Regions from separate parts of the Homo sapiens genome. Here region 2 is linked to region 1. Evidence: promoter capture Hi-C in human tissues and cell types (Jung and others, 2019). All regions are on one chromosome and are shown on one strand. Each heading gives the region's core, a stretch centred on a gene start or on the middle of the fragment in contact. The rest is flanking DNA. Distances are from core to core; before and after follow the strand shown. Region 1 holds the start of WLS (Wnt ligand secretion mediator). Region 2 has its middle 74 kb from the start of RPE65.

Region 1 (7,774 bases), core at 3,068-5,567:
TTTGTTGATACTTACAGTTTATGTTTGGAATAGTCTCATTTATGGGTATGCTGAAAACAATGCAACAATTTTCTATTAATCCAGTTCTGATCTTCATACTCTTAGCAGTTTTAGAAGAGCTGAGAACAGTGACCTGCTTTTTCAACCATTATATTTCTGAGACATGACTAATTTGAAGCTGAGCAAATTGCACATAATGGGATTCAAGTTCATGATTTTTAGTCTGCACTCTCTTTTCAGGGTACATGGTCTCCTTCCCTCCCTGCTTCTACCACCACCCCCAAAGCTGCCTTTTCAGGAGCTAAATTCACCCAACATGAAATCAAAAGAGAATTATTTTTAAGTTTTCTGCAGGCTTATTTTTAAGGAGGATAAAGTTATATTTTTAAAAATATTTATCTTTTCCTTCAGGTACTACCGCATTTTTAAATAATTTCTAAATATTTAGAATGTATTTAGATGTATTTAGAATAGTAGATGTATCAGATGTATGGTTTCATAGTGGCTCAAAGTTTTTAAAAAAGCATTATATAAATCAGTGAATTTATAAATACCCTAAGTTCTACTATGTAAGATGTTGCTTTCAGAGCCTTTTTGCAAAATCCCATTAAAGGTTTAGCTTACAGACACTGGTGCCAAAAAAAAAAAAAAAAAAAAAAAAAAAAGCAAGCAAAAAAATGTGTTTTTTTTTGTTTTTTTTTTTTTTTGGTAAGAAGGATGTTGAAATAGGAGAATATTTAAGCTGGCTAAACCAAAGCCAATTCCTGGAGGCTAGTTGCTTTTATAGTGAATGTTTAAATTTTCTCCATCAAATCTAGAAGGCTACAACGAAACAACAGCCTAAATGTCATGTACAATTCTCTAAGTACTGAAAGAGTTACACAATTTTAGAACCGAAAGGGACCTTAAACTCCTTCCTCTACCAATGAGGAGCCTGAAGCCTGCTAGTTAACTCACTTGCCTGGTCACTCTGGGGTTCACGGATTGTTATTGTTTGGTGGGGTGGTTGTTTTTGTGCTGTATATTTGTGTGTGTGGTGTATGCAGTACTCACACCCTTACAAACAAGAGCTTTGCCATTTATATTCTCCCCTTCCTAAGTTGCTCTTCCTAAGTTTACTTTCATCAGCAAAAAGAGTGATCAAAAAGAAAAATATATTCTGGCCAGTTCAAAGGGGACATTTCTTTTTCTCACTTGGCCTACTGCAGATATATTAGAGAGACACTTCACACCCAGGACAACTGACTTTTTAAGTGGCAATAACAATGAGCAGCGGAGGAGTTCTCTTCTCACTCGAGAGAGCAGAGGAGGTTTCTGAACTTTACCTTGACTTCCAGCCTACAAACTGTTCCTTCAACTACTGTCTCCGCTTGCCCACTTTGTTGCTATTCTTTCCTTAGTTTCCTTTGTTTTCCAGCTTAGGGAAGTTTGGTGGGAAAATTTTTCACTTACATTTTGTTGATATTTATTTCCCATATTTGGGTCCTACCCAAATTTTAGATTTAAGAGCAAAAAAAAATTACTGTTTAAGTGAAAGAGGAAAGGCTAAGTCACTGTTCAACATGGGCTAGATCTGATCTGAATTGGAGACACAGCCTTTGCAATTGAGGAAGGAGAGGTAAGCAGTAAACTTATACAGTTTCCTCCAAGAAGTGTTATACATAGATATTTTTCAAGGAAATTGGAATAAAGCAGTTTATTAATTGAGGGGAAGCTAGTTACAGTTAGCACCTGCCGCGGACTTTTTGAGGTTGTCGTCATTAACCAAATTCTTCGGGAAAAACAATCTTTGGCACCACTTACTCCAGACAAACCCTGTTTGGAACAGACAAGTGTTCTGACCCTATAGTCGCTCCAATGTCCACCAGCCACTCACGAGTGCCCTTAGGGCTTCTCCTTGGTGGTAGCATCCCAGAAATCCTACTAGTTTCAGAAGTGCCCTAGGAAGCCTACTTCTTGGATAATGGGCTCTGTCTGCAAAGCTAGGAGATCAGCCTAGAAAAAGAAACACACCAACAAACACCAGGAAACTATGTGTAATGGTTTGCTGCTTGTGCAAAAACCTCAAAGAGGATGAAGGTCAGACAGGGATAATAGGCCAATTTAATTCTGAAAGCACAAGGTGCAAGAAATTTTAATTATGGTCTGCCACTGAAATCACACAAGATCCAATGGCATCTAACTGCAACTGCTCATCAAGGGAGACAAGAGGTGTAATTGTAACCGCTGCATAATCACTGTGAGGGCACAGGGAAGGCTGCCTTCAGCTCCCAGCAGAGAAGGTATTAAGAGCCTCGAAAAATCCAATACGGGGAAACGAGATTGCATGTAGCCAAACAGAAGCTCCTAACACAAAAGCCAACCCGTGTGTGTGTGTGCGCGCGTGTGTGTGTGTGTGTGTGTGTGTGTTGAGGGTGAGGGTTCCAGAAAGAAAATGTGAAGCTGTTTGGCCCACACTGGGGATAAGAGATTGTTTGAAAACTCTGAACCCTTTTCTGTTTTGTGGATAAATGCACACAGAGAAAAGAGCACTGTCTCCTTTAGGTATTTCTCTCCTTGATGAAGCTTCACCCACTCTCCTTTGTTTAAGACAATTGGCTTGGATGTTACCGTGATTTACAGTACCAAACTCCCTTTAATTTGTTCCCATCAAACCCAAGTCTGGAGACAAAACGCCAAGCACACGACTGGAGGTGCCCAAGCCTGTGCAGCTCTGGCAGCGACGCCGCCGGCGCCCCCGGGCGTTTTCCCCGCACCCCACATCGCGTGGGCGCCCGTAAAGGCACGCGCGGAGAAAGCCCCTCCGTGGACTCCCCACTCCGCAAAGTTTAACAAAGCCGTGAAGTAAGGAAACCGAACCTCCCGTCCGCGCCCGCTGCAAAGTTGGCATTGAAGTTTGTGCCGGGATGTCCCAAATCTTGAGGGGGCGGGGGGCGCGAGTGTGCAGAGAGGCGGGAGGATGGATGCAGATGGGGAGACAGTGAGGGGAAGGGAGTTTTTCCGAGTGGACGGTCCGTGAGGCGGTTTTCTTCACCCGGAAGCCTGTTTGACTCAGAGAGGTCCGGGAGGTGCACGCCAGGGGAGGTCTCCCGGGGCGGGCGCTGTCGCCGAGGAGGCCGGCGAGCTGTCACCTGCGGGGGGCTGTGGTGGGAGCTGAGGGCGCTCTCCTAAGCGCCAAAAGAGGACGGGGACATTCACAGTCACCGGCTCTCGGGGCTCTAAGTAGTGGGGGAAGGGATATTCACGAGTGGGCAGGAGGCCAAAAGCAACACCTTTCGGATACGCTTTTCCCCTCCGACCTCTCCAACTTCCCGCGGCGCTGGTCAAGGACTCCCTCCCACCCCACCCCATCCCACCCAACCTCCCGGCCGACAATTCGGACCTGTCCACGGCAGAGCGTGGGGTGGAGTGCGGCGGGAAAGCAGAGGGCGCGAAGGTCGGGACCCCAAATTGCAAACCCTCAGCCCCTAGCAAAGACGACCAAATGCATTTACAACCGTGCAAGTATCTCAGCCTTGTAACAGAGCTCCGGGTTTGCGCCGGGCACAGTTCCCCGACTCTTCTGTTGTTCCTAATAAAGTCGATTACGTTGCCCTCCCGGAGCTGATTGGAAGGGAACCGAGAGGAAAAGGGGGGGAACGCGGGAAAAAGCGGGGGGGGGGGGGGGCGAGCAATCAACTTTGTAACCCAGCGCTTCCTCGCGCGATCCGTCGCCATGCTTAAGATTCCCACCCCCGCCGCCCCCCTCTTGCCTTTCAAGTGGATACTGAAACTAGGCCAAAACTTTTTCCCCTCCTTTTCTCTTAGCCACTAGACTGGATTGTGCCCCACGGAGCCCCATGGAGCTCTGCTTTCTTAAGCACAATAGCCGGACTAATTAGATCATAGAAGCAAGGCAGTGATACTGTAACAAGTAGCCCAAGAGGCAAAGAGGGAAGGGGCCCGAAAAGACAGAAAGGGGGAAAAGTTTGCAGCTCTCCGCACTTACCAATCAAGCCTCCCACCAGAAAGGCGATGATTTGGAACACGAGCAGAATCCCACCAACAATGCACAGCTTCTTGGTGCTCATGTTTTCTATAATTGCCCCAGCCATTTTTGCGCCCCCCCTTTTTCTTTTCTCCTTGAAATAAATGTTTTAGGGTGAGCTTTTTGCTCCCTCCTCTCACACACTCCCTCCTTCCTCGCCTCCTTTCTGGGCGCTGCAAAACTTCAGAGGTGCTGGAGCGCGGCGAGGATGGGACCGGGACGGAAGGCGCCCGCACGGATTCCCCCGGCGCAGCCGGCTCGGGTTCCCCCAATGCCCGGAGCTGTGATTGTGGCCGCTCCGCCGCCTGTGGACGCTTAAAGGAGCAGGGAAGCGGATCACATGACGCCGCCTCCCTCCCTTTCTTCCTCCCTCCCTCTCGCGCTTCCTCCCTCCCTCCCTCCCTCTCTTCCTCTACCCCTTGCCCACCAGTTCGGGGCTCAGAGCTCTGGCGGGTGCTGGCGCCTGGCTCCCGAGTCTGGCCTGCAACCTGTCTCTCCAAGGTCTGATGCCATTTAGGGGTTGCTGTTGATGTTAAGCGGGTTCCCCCTGCCCAGCTTCTCACAGGTTTCCTTTTCTGGTTTCCGAAGTGCGAGATTTAAATCACCGGTGGACCGCCTTGCAGACCTTTAACTTACGCGTTGACTTTAGGAAATGGTCCCCACCCCACCCCCAACTGCTAGAACTCTCTTTAGGAAAGAGGAGGAGAATTTTTTTTAAAAGGACCCAATAGATGCCTAAGTCAAAACACAGAGATGCGGAATAAAGTCTCAGCTCGACTTCTTTCTACCAGATTCCCAGCCTCGGTTATTGGGCACATACCCAGCTAAATTCCCCACGGCGCCCCTTGAGGAAACTTGCTCTCCAGCCAAATCAGACCACTGTTCGTTACTCCAGCACATGTGCTTCCACAGCCTTAACCCTGGTTATTGCCTTAAAGAGAACATGTTCTACTCCATCAATGTTAAACCTGATCCAAAACCAACTAGTGTTAAAAAATCTTTCTAATTTTCCACACCACCTCCATGCAGTATCTCTGGGAACTGAGCCCCTACAATCCTGTATTTACATTTTTACCTCCTATTGTAAGGATTTGTGTACACGTTTGTCTCCACCACTGAGCTGTAAACTCCTGGGGAATAGGGACCAAGTTTTTTTTGTTCTTTGTACCCCCCATGGTGCCTAACAAAATGCTAGCTCTAGTAGGTGCCCCATAATCTTTTGTGGAATGAATAAGTGAATGTGAAAGCAAGCCCACAGTTTGTATTTCAAAGGTCTAAAGAGATCTTAGTTGGTTTAGAGGGTACCTATATTAAGTTACAATGTTTGTTGTCTCTTTGTGAGAAATCATATATTTATATTTATACTTAACTTCCATAAAAAGAGGGGCGGGGCTCCCGATAGAGATTTCCTGCTCTATCAAGCCTAAATTTCTGGGCCTGGTTTTTCCATGTTTCATAAACTGGCCGCTTGGCCAGTACAACTCACCTTACTCAATAGACCCTTGGTTTGGTAAATACCCCACCCTGCTCCCCAAACGTGCAGTTTCTACCACCACCACCCACACATCTTGTTTCTTGTCCCTCCCATCCTTACACACCCTCTTCATGCCAAGAGACTATTTTTCCCAGTCCTCTCTCCTCCTCTACTCTGTTCCTGAATTTTCATTGCCCTTATAAAAGATGTCATGCAGGTTACACTTAATAGAAGCATTCATTTCTAATCTCCAAATAGAACAGAGACTTGTCAAGGACAAGCACCAAACTTTATGCATACAAAACTCCATCTCTTCAACATCTAATAGTTCTTAACAGTTCTGAGGATATACACATCATTATGTGTCACATAAGGATGTTTCAGTCAACAACAGACCGTGTGTGTGACAGTAGTCCTATAAGGTTATAATACCATATTCTTACAACACCTTTTCTATAGATATGTTTAGATACACAGAGTGCTTACTATTGCATTACAGTTGTCTACAGTGTTCAGTACAGTAACATGCCAGACAGGTTTGTAGTCTAGGAGCAATCAGCTACACGGTGTAGCCTAGGTCTGTAGTAGGCTATGCTACCTAGGTTTATGTAAGTGCCCTCTATGACATTTGCACAATGACAAATCACCTAACAACACATTCTCAGAAGGTATTCCCATCATTAAGCAATGCATGACTGTGGTTGCTGTTTATCTATTCTCTCATTCAACTCTTTATCCAAGTCACTTATTGAGCCTTTAACATGTTCCAGGCTTTCTTTCTTAAGCACTCAAGGATACCAAGATGTCAAAGTACTTGCACCTGCCCCAGAGGAACCCCCCCCCAGTCCAAATGTTATTCACTGAATAGTAATTAATTACCTCTACTTTGGCAAACACCAGGTACTATCAGAAAGGATGAAGTAGACAGAATTGTTGTCCTTCCAATGTCCTTCAGTTCAAAGTACTCAGATACCTTGGGGTATCATGTTCTGAGCCCAGCACTCCTAAGGGCCCATTTATCTTTCCTAAAAGTCATTTGTTTTCTCATAAATACACTTCTTCTCCTATTAAGATAGAATATAAGCTCCAAATTCTATTAACAACTGCCTCCTTGAGTGGTTATGAATGCCCACATACATTTGATATATGTGAACAAAAATTTGTCTTTTGCCTTGCTAATCTGTCTTTTGTCAGTTTAGTCCACAGACCCCCAAGCACTATGCATAAGAGGGTAGAGAAAAAATGGTGGGTTTTTTGTTTATTTATTTGTTTGTTTGTTTTTGAGACAGAGTCTCATTCTGTCGCCCAGTCTGCAGTGCAGTGACACGATCTTGGCTCACTGCAACCTCTGCCTCCTGAGCTCAAGCAATTCTCCTGCCTCAGCCTCCTGTGTAGCTGGGATTACAGGTGCCCACCACCACATCTAGCTAATTTTTGTATTTTTAGTAGAAATGGGGTTTCGCCATGTTGGCTAGGCTGGTCTTGAACTCCTGACCTCAGGTGATCCACCCACCTCTGCTCCCAAAGTGCTGGGATTACAGGTGTGAGCTACCACGCCTGGCCCCCGTCCACTTCAAATATAAACTGGATCCATAAAAAATGTCTGGAGTGGTAGAAGTGATTTATTCAGATTAGTGAACTCCTTGACTTAGTTTTTAATGAGCTGCTACAATACACCCCACCCCCTCTGCTCTGAAATGCATCTCTGCAGAGTAACTAGCCTAACTCCTTAGGTTTCAGTTTTCTCATCTGTAAATGAGTTGCTGGTTCTCCACCAAGATGATCCCCTGCTTTAAAAGAGCACTTATTAAATAGTTATTTTAATTAAAAAGGGATATTTCTAATTGCTAATCAGTACTTCTGTCATGAGATTACCAATAATGCCCAACTTGGTGGGATGTAGACACCTGTAGTATTCATCACCATGGGCTGCTTTAAAAAAATTGAATTTCTATCACATCTTTTTAAACATTAAAAGTGACTGTGAATCTTTATTTCCCAAGCGGACAACACAGGTGAATAGAAAAGAACATGACAGTTAGAGTCAGCTGGATCTGGTTTGGAACCCAGATCCCATCTGCCCCTTGTTTCATGTGATTATAGGCCATTATGCAGTTACTTACCACCTCTGAGGCTTCACAGACCAACTCTGAGGCTTCTGTAAAACCTTCACTCTTTACAGAAGAGTTTTCCCTTCCGTAAAATGGGAATAATAGTACTATTTCATGGTATTCTTGTAAGATATGAATATTTATTATTATATTTAGGAAACT
Region 2 (7,734 bases), core at 2,510-5,009, 140 kb after region 1:
TAAGACGAAAGTAAAATCATGGAAAAAATATATATTAGGATGGCCAAAATCTGAAAAGCTGACAATACCAATTGCTGGTGAGAATGCAACAGAAATTCTCATTCATTGCTAGTGGGAATGCCAAATGGTACAAACACTTTGGCAGTTTCTTGCAAAACTAAGGATACCATAGAATCCAGCAGTAGTGCACCTGGGTATTTACCGAACTGATTTGAAAACTGCTGTTCATACAAAACACCACACATAAATATTTACAATTATTTTATTTATAATCACCAAAACTGGGAGTAATCAAGACGAAGAAGCCTGTGACTAGCCAGCCACTGCACTCCAGCCTGGACAACATAGCAAGACCCTTGTCTAAAACAAAACAAAACCCTTAAACAAACTACAGCTGGCAAACAAATATCCTGGTTAATGATTAAAAAAAATACACATCTCCATGACTAAATGGACTAATATAAATATTTCATAGAAAAGACATCAAATTCCAGATAAAACTTGAGTGTATTCAATCTAAATAAGTGAAATAAGTTTATTTCCTTACTTCTCATTTGGATTATTTGCTTCTCAAAGACAGAATTGTTCCTTGCAAGAAACAAATTTATACATACAATAGTTCTTTATTTAATTATTGTTTTATTGATTTCAAAGATTTAGCCAACATTGATGAGGACGAAATGCTATAGTTTATTGAGGCTAAATCAGTGTAGCCCAGGTTGGAAGTGCAGTCTCAGATGTCTTCTAATTGGAAATGTTGCAAGTTATATTATTGTTCAAAAATACTTACTCCCTTTCTTTAACTTCATGGGAAGAATGTTCTTCCCCCTACTGGTTGATCTTGGGCTTGGCCTTCTGTGACTTCCTTTGACCTCAGGCCGAATGTGCTTGCATTCTATACCCTCGCATTAGTATAATGCAGCATAGCCTATGGTTAAACAGGCTTTCAGGCAGGCTTCTGTGCTAGCAGTTTTCACCTATATTACCGTGAACCATAGAAATGGCGGATATGGCCAGATGCGGTGGCTCATGCCTGTAATCCCAGCACTTTGGAAGGCCAAGGCGGGCAGATCACGAGGTCAGGAGTTCGAGACCAGCCTGGCCAATATGGTGAAACCCTGTCTCTACTAAAAATACAAAAACTAGCCAGGCGTGGTGGCGCGCTCCTGTAGTCCCAGCTACTTGGGCGGCTGAGGCAGAAGAATCGCTTAAACTCGGGAGGCGGAGGTTGCAGTGAGCTGAGATTGCGCCACTGCATTCCAGTCTGGGCGACAGAGTGAGACTCCGTCTCAAGAAAAAAAAAAAAAAAAAAAAAAGAAATTGTGGGATATTTGACTTTTTACTCTCCAAAACCCCTGCATTTTTATATGATTCATTCAATCCTCATCTTACCTTGCTGCCGCCCCAGCCCAAGGCCCTGAGCAGAGGGGAGCGATGGCACCAGCAGCAGCCACACGCTCGCGCCTACTGCTAGCATCCTTGCAGCGCAACCCCCGCCCGCACCGCCTGCGGGAAGCTGGGGGTCTTGGAGCCTCGGTCTCCAGCCTTCTCCTGACTTTGGCTCCGTGCCACCCGCCAGGCTCACCCCCAACCACTACTCCTCCCACCCACCATTCCCAGTCCCTCCTCCCTGCCGGTTTCTCCTGGACATCCCTGGCCTGCTCCAGCAGCGCCGCCAGCTTCAACCTCACGCCCTTAGTTTTCACTTCTTATTTAATAGCAGAAGCACCGAACAAAATTCCCGAATAAAATTCCTCATTGGCCTCTGACACTAGACTACAAACATCAGGTGACTCAATATTGTGGGGGGAATTGGGCCAACTTGGCTTAAATTAATCCAAGCTTTGCTATAATATGACCTAAATCCCTTCATTTATAAAATGTAGATAAGGAAGAATTGGTATTGAATAAACATCTGGCACATCATTCTCGATATTACTACTGTATTACTATTCTAATAAAAATTATAAATTGTCACTTATTCAACAAAGATTTATCCAACCTCTCTTTTGTGCCTGAGTTTAAATTTCTCTTTCTGGAAAAGGAGACCCCTGGAATTCAGGGAATATGGAAGGTTACACCTACAGGTCTGTGATTGGCATATTGGAAGGGCCCACGAGACTTTGCCAATTGTAGAGTCTACCTCACCAGGGGTTAAGACGACTTGATTAGAATACATTTCTATACAGTTATGGCATCTGTGCTATTTCTAGCTTCCCCCTCTTTTTATCATTTCTATTACAGGTTCTAACATGCAACTTTAAAAATGGTCTCTCAAGCTCATGGCCTTCAAGCTTGGAATTAGGTTGGTAGGGCAGTATGTGTCTCTGCTTGCTAGCAGTAAAAAATGTTTGAATGGGAGATCTTTCCATGGAAAGGGTTTTTATAACTCCGTTACAAAGAGCAGCCTAACAATGCAGGGGAATGTCAAGTTTTTTCAAATGTTTTACAAGGATGTTGGGGAAGCGGATGGTCTCTCCAACTCTGTCTCCATGTTCTATGTATTGACTTGCAAAGAGAGCACACTGTGTTATTTTTAGTCAAGATAAGCAATGAAAAAATGCATTGGTGCATACCTTGCCTTCCATATTTTTGAACTTAAATTCATTTCATACTGCCTTCTCTTTGAACAAAGAATTTACCAAGATAACCAGTATGTCGCGAGTCTTCCTGCAGTGCACCTCTTTCACAACCTTGGCTCCCATTTCTCCTGGCACACAGACTTTTTTCTCGAAGCATACTTGTTCCACTTGTGATTCTTCCCTGGCAAACAGTCCTGCCTTAAATTCAACCTATCTCTTGGATATCTTTGTGGAATTCTTGCTGTCTTATACCTGATTGGATTGAACAGGTTAGTGTTTGATAGTTTATTTGTTTTAGCATATCAAATTTTTTTAAGGGGACAGAGTTAAAAATTGGCCTCCCTTAGTACCATCAAGATGAATCCACTCTTCCTCCATTTTATTGCATAAAAATGTAATGTAATACTATTATAGACCCTTGTGTGTATGAGTGCTTCCTCCATCTCTTGAGGGTAGAGACCCGGTCTAGTTCCCCTCCTTATCCTCAGCAGCTAGCCCTGGGCCTGACACCTAGGAGGCACTTGGTAAATGTCTTTTGAATAAATGAATGAATAGTGATCAGTAAATTAATGGAAAGCTTTTAACCAAGGGATGTGCACGGAGGCTCAGCATGACTGTGTTTACTATCTGTAGGGCTAGCGGAGGTAGAGGATAAAAAGCTGGAGATAATTGGGCAGCCTTTGGGAACTGATGGTGCTACATAGGGAAGATCTCTTGGAAGGGAAGGAAGATAGTGAAAGATGGTTAAACGGGGAAAGAGGTTAAAGGGGAAGGGGAATAGAAAGGGTGAGTGCAAAAAGAAACACCACCTGTCAGACTGGGCTCTTTTCCTTTCCCTCTCCTCAGCTCCCACAGACTTCCTTCGGGCCCCTTTTTTTCAAAATGTAATTTATTTTATTTAACAATCTAGGAAGTTCACAGCCACCAGCAGTTCTAGTGCAATTTCAGGTGTGATTGGGAATTCGGGAATCTCAGTGGAGCTGTTAGTGTAGCGAACCTTGTAAGTAAAATACATGCATACTTTTGATAGCACATACGAAGGTATCTCTCTAAAATTGACCTCATTGGTTTCATTCTCGGCAAATTGACCAGGGCTGTTCAACATGGCTTTTATCATGCCTGATATTAATGCATGTTCTCTTTTTACAATAAATTCATGGCCATCAGATGGTATCAATTTGACATACATGGCATCTCAGGGCCTTCACAGCCACCATAGGTTTTCTCCTCTCCATTCATTTTGTTCTTATAAAATGCTACTTTGCTTCCCCTGGAACTTTAGTAGTTTCCTGGAGCTCTGCTTCTGCCTCAGTCAGAGTCTCACTCATCAGCCCTGCAGCCACTGCAGCCTGGTCCCCACGCACCCCCATAGCCCCTGTTCCAGGGCCATTGCCCCTCTTTGGGTCCCTTTTGTAGTTCTTCTCCACTTGCTCCAATTCTGATCAGAAGAGTTGCTGTGCAGGATCAAGAATTGTAAGCAGGTGGAAAACAGCAACTGAATATAAAGTTTAGGAATTCACTAAGCCAAGAAGTTTGAAGATAGGTTGAAATACCAGGCTGTGGTATAATGTTTCACTCTTGAAGAGGTGGGCCTTCCAAGTGACTACTCGTATTTCCCCTATGAAATGTGATGTTCTCCATGGAAACAGCCCATGAACAGCCCAGTGTTCCATTTTTCCAAGGTCTGCCAGCATTGCTGCTGGGCTGACTTGGAGGGTTGGCTGGGTTAGACTAAGGTTAAGCCAAGATCTTTTCAAAGTAATTGGCATTTGGAAGTAACTACTGTACATTGCCAAAAGAAGAGATGATGATGACAAAGAGCTGTGACCTTAAAGGAATGTGACCAGGCTTTGACTGATTCTTTCTTGTCAAAATAGCCAAAAGAATGTCTGATCAAGGGTCATGTTGAAAGGAAAATTTCAATTTGCCTCATTCTTTTTTTTTAAACATAGGTTTTTTTAGGACGCAGGGAATAAACATTGTTTGGAATACAGGTTTTCTTCTTGTTTAATTATCAAAATATTTTTAGGATATCTGAAATGCCCTCTGAAATCTGACAGTTAATATTTAAAGTATAATTTTGACTCACTTAAATAAGAAACTTGTCTGCTGGGCAAAATGAGAAATTTTGAGCTCTTCACTTGGGTTCAGGGTGGTGCCATCTGTATCTCTGTACCCAAGTGCTCTGTGTATAGTGGGAGCTCAGTAAACATTTGGTGCCTGAGTGAAAAAGTTGAAATTCAATAGCATTATACAATCCTGATCTGCTGTTTCAGCTGGAAGCAGCTAGTTAGTTATGCAGCTCATTGGCCCTCAGCATTTTGACTTCTTTTGCTGTAGAAGCAGATAGAGTAAGAAGCTAGGCATACCTTTATATCACCTATTTTCAAACCTCATCATTAACAATAAATTTATTTTATTAGAAATGTGTGTGCTTGTAGAAAAAGCTTGCAGTGTAACAAAACTAGCTTTCTAAAAATGAATGATTCTATCTTTTGTAATCAGTACTTCATGCAGTTGTAGTCACTGCAAATGGGCAAGCAGATAGCTCCAAGATTCTGTAAAGCCACTATGATTTGAACTATACTCATAATAATATAGTTCTGCATTTTTCCTCATTGCAGTTATATGATTTTAAAAATTATACAACATAAAAATGCAGAAAGAAATGAAAACGCATAGTTGCCACTATTAGTATATTCCTAGGGTATTTTTGGTGTAAGAATGTGTGATAATCATAATTCTAAGCTAGCCCTCCATGATCTCTACCCTCTAGTTATTCCTGTGATTATGTTGTTACTTGGCAAAAAGAATTTTACAGAGGTAATCAAGTTACTGATCAGTTGACCCTACGATAAGGAGATTATCTGGGTAAGCCTAATCTAATCACATGAATTCTTTAAAAGCAGAGAGGTTTCTTTGGCTAGTTGGAGAAGCAGAAGAAGTCAGAGATTCAAATCATGAGAAGCACTCAAAATGCCATTGCTTGCTGGAAGATGGGAGGAGCCGTAAGTTAAGAAATGTGAGTGACCTCTAGGAGAGGAGAGTGACCCCTAGCCAATAGTCAGCAAGCAAATGGAAATCTCAGTCCTACAAACAAAAAGAACTGTATTCTGCCCAACAGCCTGACTGAACTTGGAAGCAAATCCTATACAGTACCTCCAGCTTGGCCAACATCTGGATTTCAGCCTTTGTGACTGACCCTAAGCAGAGGACCCAGTTAACATGTGCCAAACTCCTGACCCATGAAAAATGTAAGATAATAAATATGTATTGTTTACAGCTGCTAAGCTTATGACAGTTACACAGCAATAGAGACTAATGCAGATTTTGATACTGAAAGTTGATACTGCTGTAATTAATACCTAAAAGGTGGAAATGGTTTTGGGATTAGGCAGTAGCTGGAGGCTAGAAGAATTTTGAGGAACATGATAGAGAAAGGCTAAATTGTCTCAAACAGACTGTTAGTAGAAATATGGATATTAAAGATACAACTGGTGAGAGCTTAGAAGGAGGTGAAGAGCATTATAGAGCAAACCTAAATTTCCTTGGAGAAAGCCTAAATCATCATGAACAGACTTTAATTAGAAATCTGGGCTTTTAGAATACTGTTGGGGAAGACTCAGAACGAAGTGAGAATCATGTTATTGGAACTGGAGGAAGGAGAATCCTTGCTATGTGGTGATAGAAAGTTTAGAAAAATTGTGTCCTGCAGTTATGTGGAAAGCAGAATTTGTAAATGACAAACTTAGATATATAGCTGAGGAGATTTGCAAGCAAAGTGTTAAAGGTGCTGGCTTATTTCTGTCTTACTACTTATACTAAAATGTGAGGAAAAAAAAATAACTGGAGGGAAAAACTGGTAAACATAAAGGGATTAGGACTGGAGAATTTTGAGACTGCTCAACCTTTCCAGGTGGCAAGAAATGCTAAGAGTCAGAAATGGCTTCCAAAAGTATGGCATAGAGAAAAGAAAGACTGTGCAACTGTCCAGCTTTCACTGAAGCCTCAGGAAGACTAAAAGGTTAAAGTGTTCAGTCATAGAAAAGGCTCTTCTAAGATATTAAGGTTGTGACTCACCGATCCCATCAGTGAAACTAGAGGGCCTCTCAGAAGCTTAGGAGTGTTGTCCCTCAGTCATCTCAGCAGAAACCAAAGACAGAGCAGGGATCATCTCAAAAATGTTTGTGCTCATGGCTTTTGTCTAATGGAGTGAAACTCTGAAAAATTTAGGCAAGGACCATTCAGTGAGTTGAATAGTTTCTTCCTGTAATTCATATCTTCCTTGGACCTATGAATGTGAACTTGTTTAAAAATAGGGTTTTTGCACATGTAATCATGTTAAGGTGAGATCATACTGGATTAGAGTGGGCCTTAATCTAATTAGTGGTGTCCTTATAAGAAGAGGGAAATTTGGACGCATACATGCAGCATGCAGAGAGGAAAACAACATGTGAAGACAGGCAGAGATTAGAGTGATGCACCTACAAGTCAAGAATTGTTTGCAGTTACTAAAAGCTAGAAGAGACAAGGAAGGACTCTCCTCTAGAGCCATCAGAGAGAGCATGGCTCTGCTGATACCTTGATTTAAGTTTTGTAGCTTCCAAAACTATGAGAGAATAAATTTTACTTTTCACAGGCCATCTAGTTTGTGTAACTTGTTACAGGAGCCCTAGGAAACTAGTAAGGATTATAATGTTTTTGAGAACATTACATCAACAGAAATGCTACTAGAGTGGACTGAAAGAACTGAGGAAGTACAAAATGAAAGAAAACTATTGGGGCTCTCCCATATGCCAATTTTATTGTCAGGAAGCAAGCTAATAAAACCACTTGGCTGAAAACATTTTCCTTTCTTGATAATGGAAGGATGACTCAGAGGGCAGAATCAAGAACCCAGAAGGCTGAACCAAGAACCCAGGGTGCAGATTTGAAAACCATAGCAGGTTATTCCAAGGCCTGGAATAATAAACCTAATTAAAGAACCCCAGCTGGAGTTTCTGTGGGTGTATTTCAAAGTTGCTTTGGATTTGTGTCTCCTTTTTGCCTTCCATCTCTCTCCCTTTTTTATTGATTAATATATTTTATTAAAAAATGTATTTCTAGAGCTTATAAATGGGTAAATTTCAACATAGTATCAATGCAGACTAAC

What was found. The method cuts DNA at HindIII sites, captures the fragments that hold promoters and counts their contacts. A contact is called where the count stands out against the background at its distance.
Region 2: a contact is called between a fragment that was not itself captured here and the fragment with the promoter of WLS in region 1, in 1 of the 25 tissues and cell types used here (H1 embryonic stem cells).

The regions. Positions count from the first base shown.
Region 1 is chr1:68,228,206-68,235,979 of GRCh38, forward strand. WLS (Wnt ligand secretion mediator) reads right to left here and starts at 4,318. Exons shown (of 12, transcript NM_024911.7): 1 at 3,989-4,318. The coding sequence starts at 4,094. The HindIII fragment of the contact is 13,703 bases long and covers 1,104-7,774 here.
Region 2 is chr1:68,371,842-68,379,575 of GRCh38, forward strand. It overlaps the pseudogene ELOCP18. Among named protein-coding and RNA genes, the nearest start is that of RPE65, 74 kb to the right of the region's middle. The HindIII fragment of the contact is 3,383 bases long and covers 2,069-5,451 here.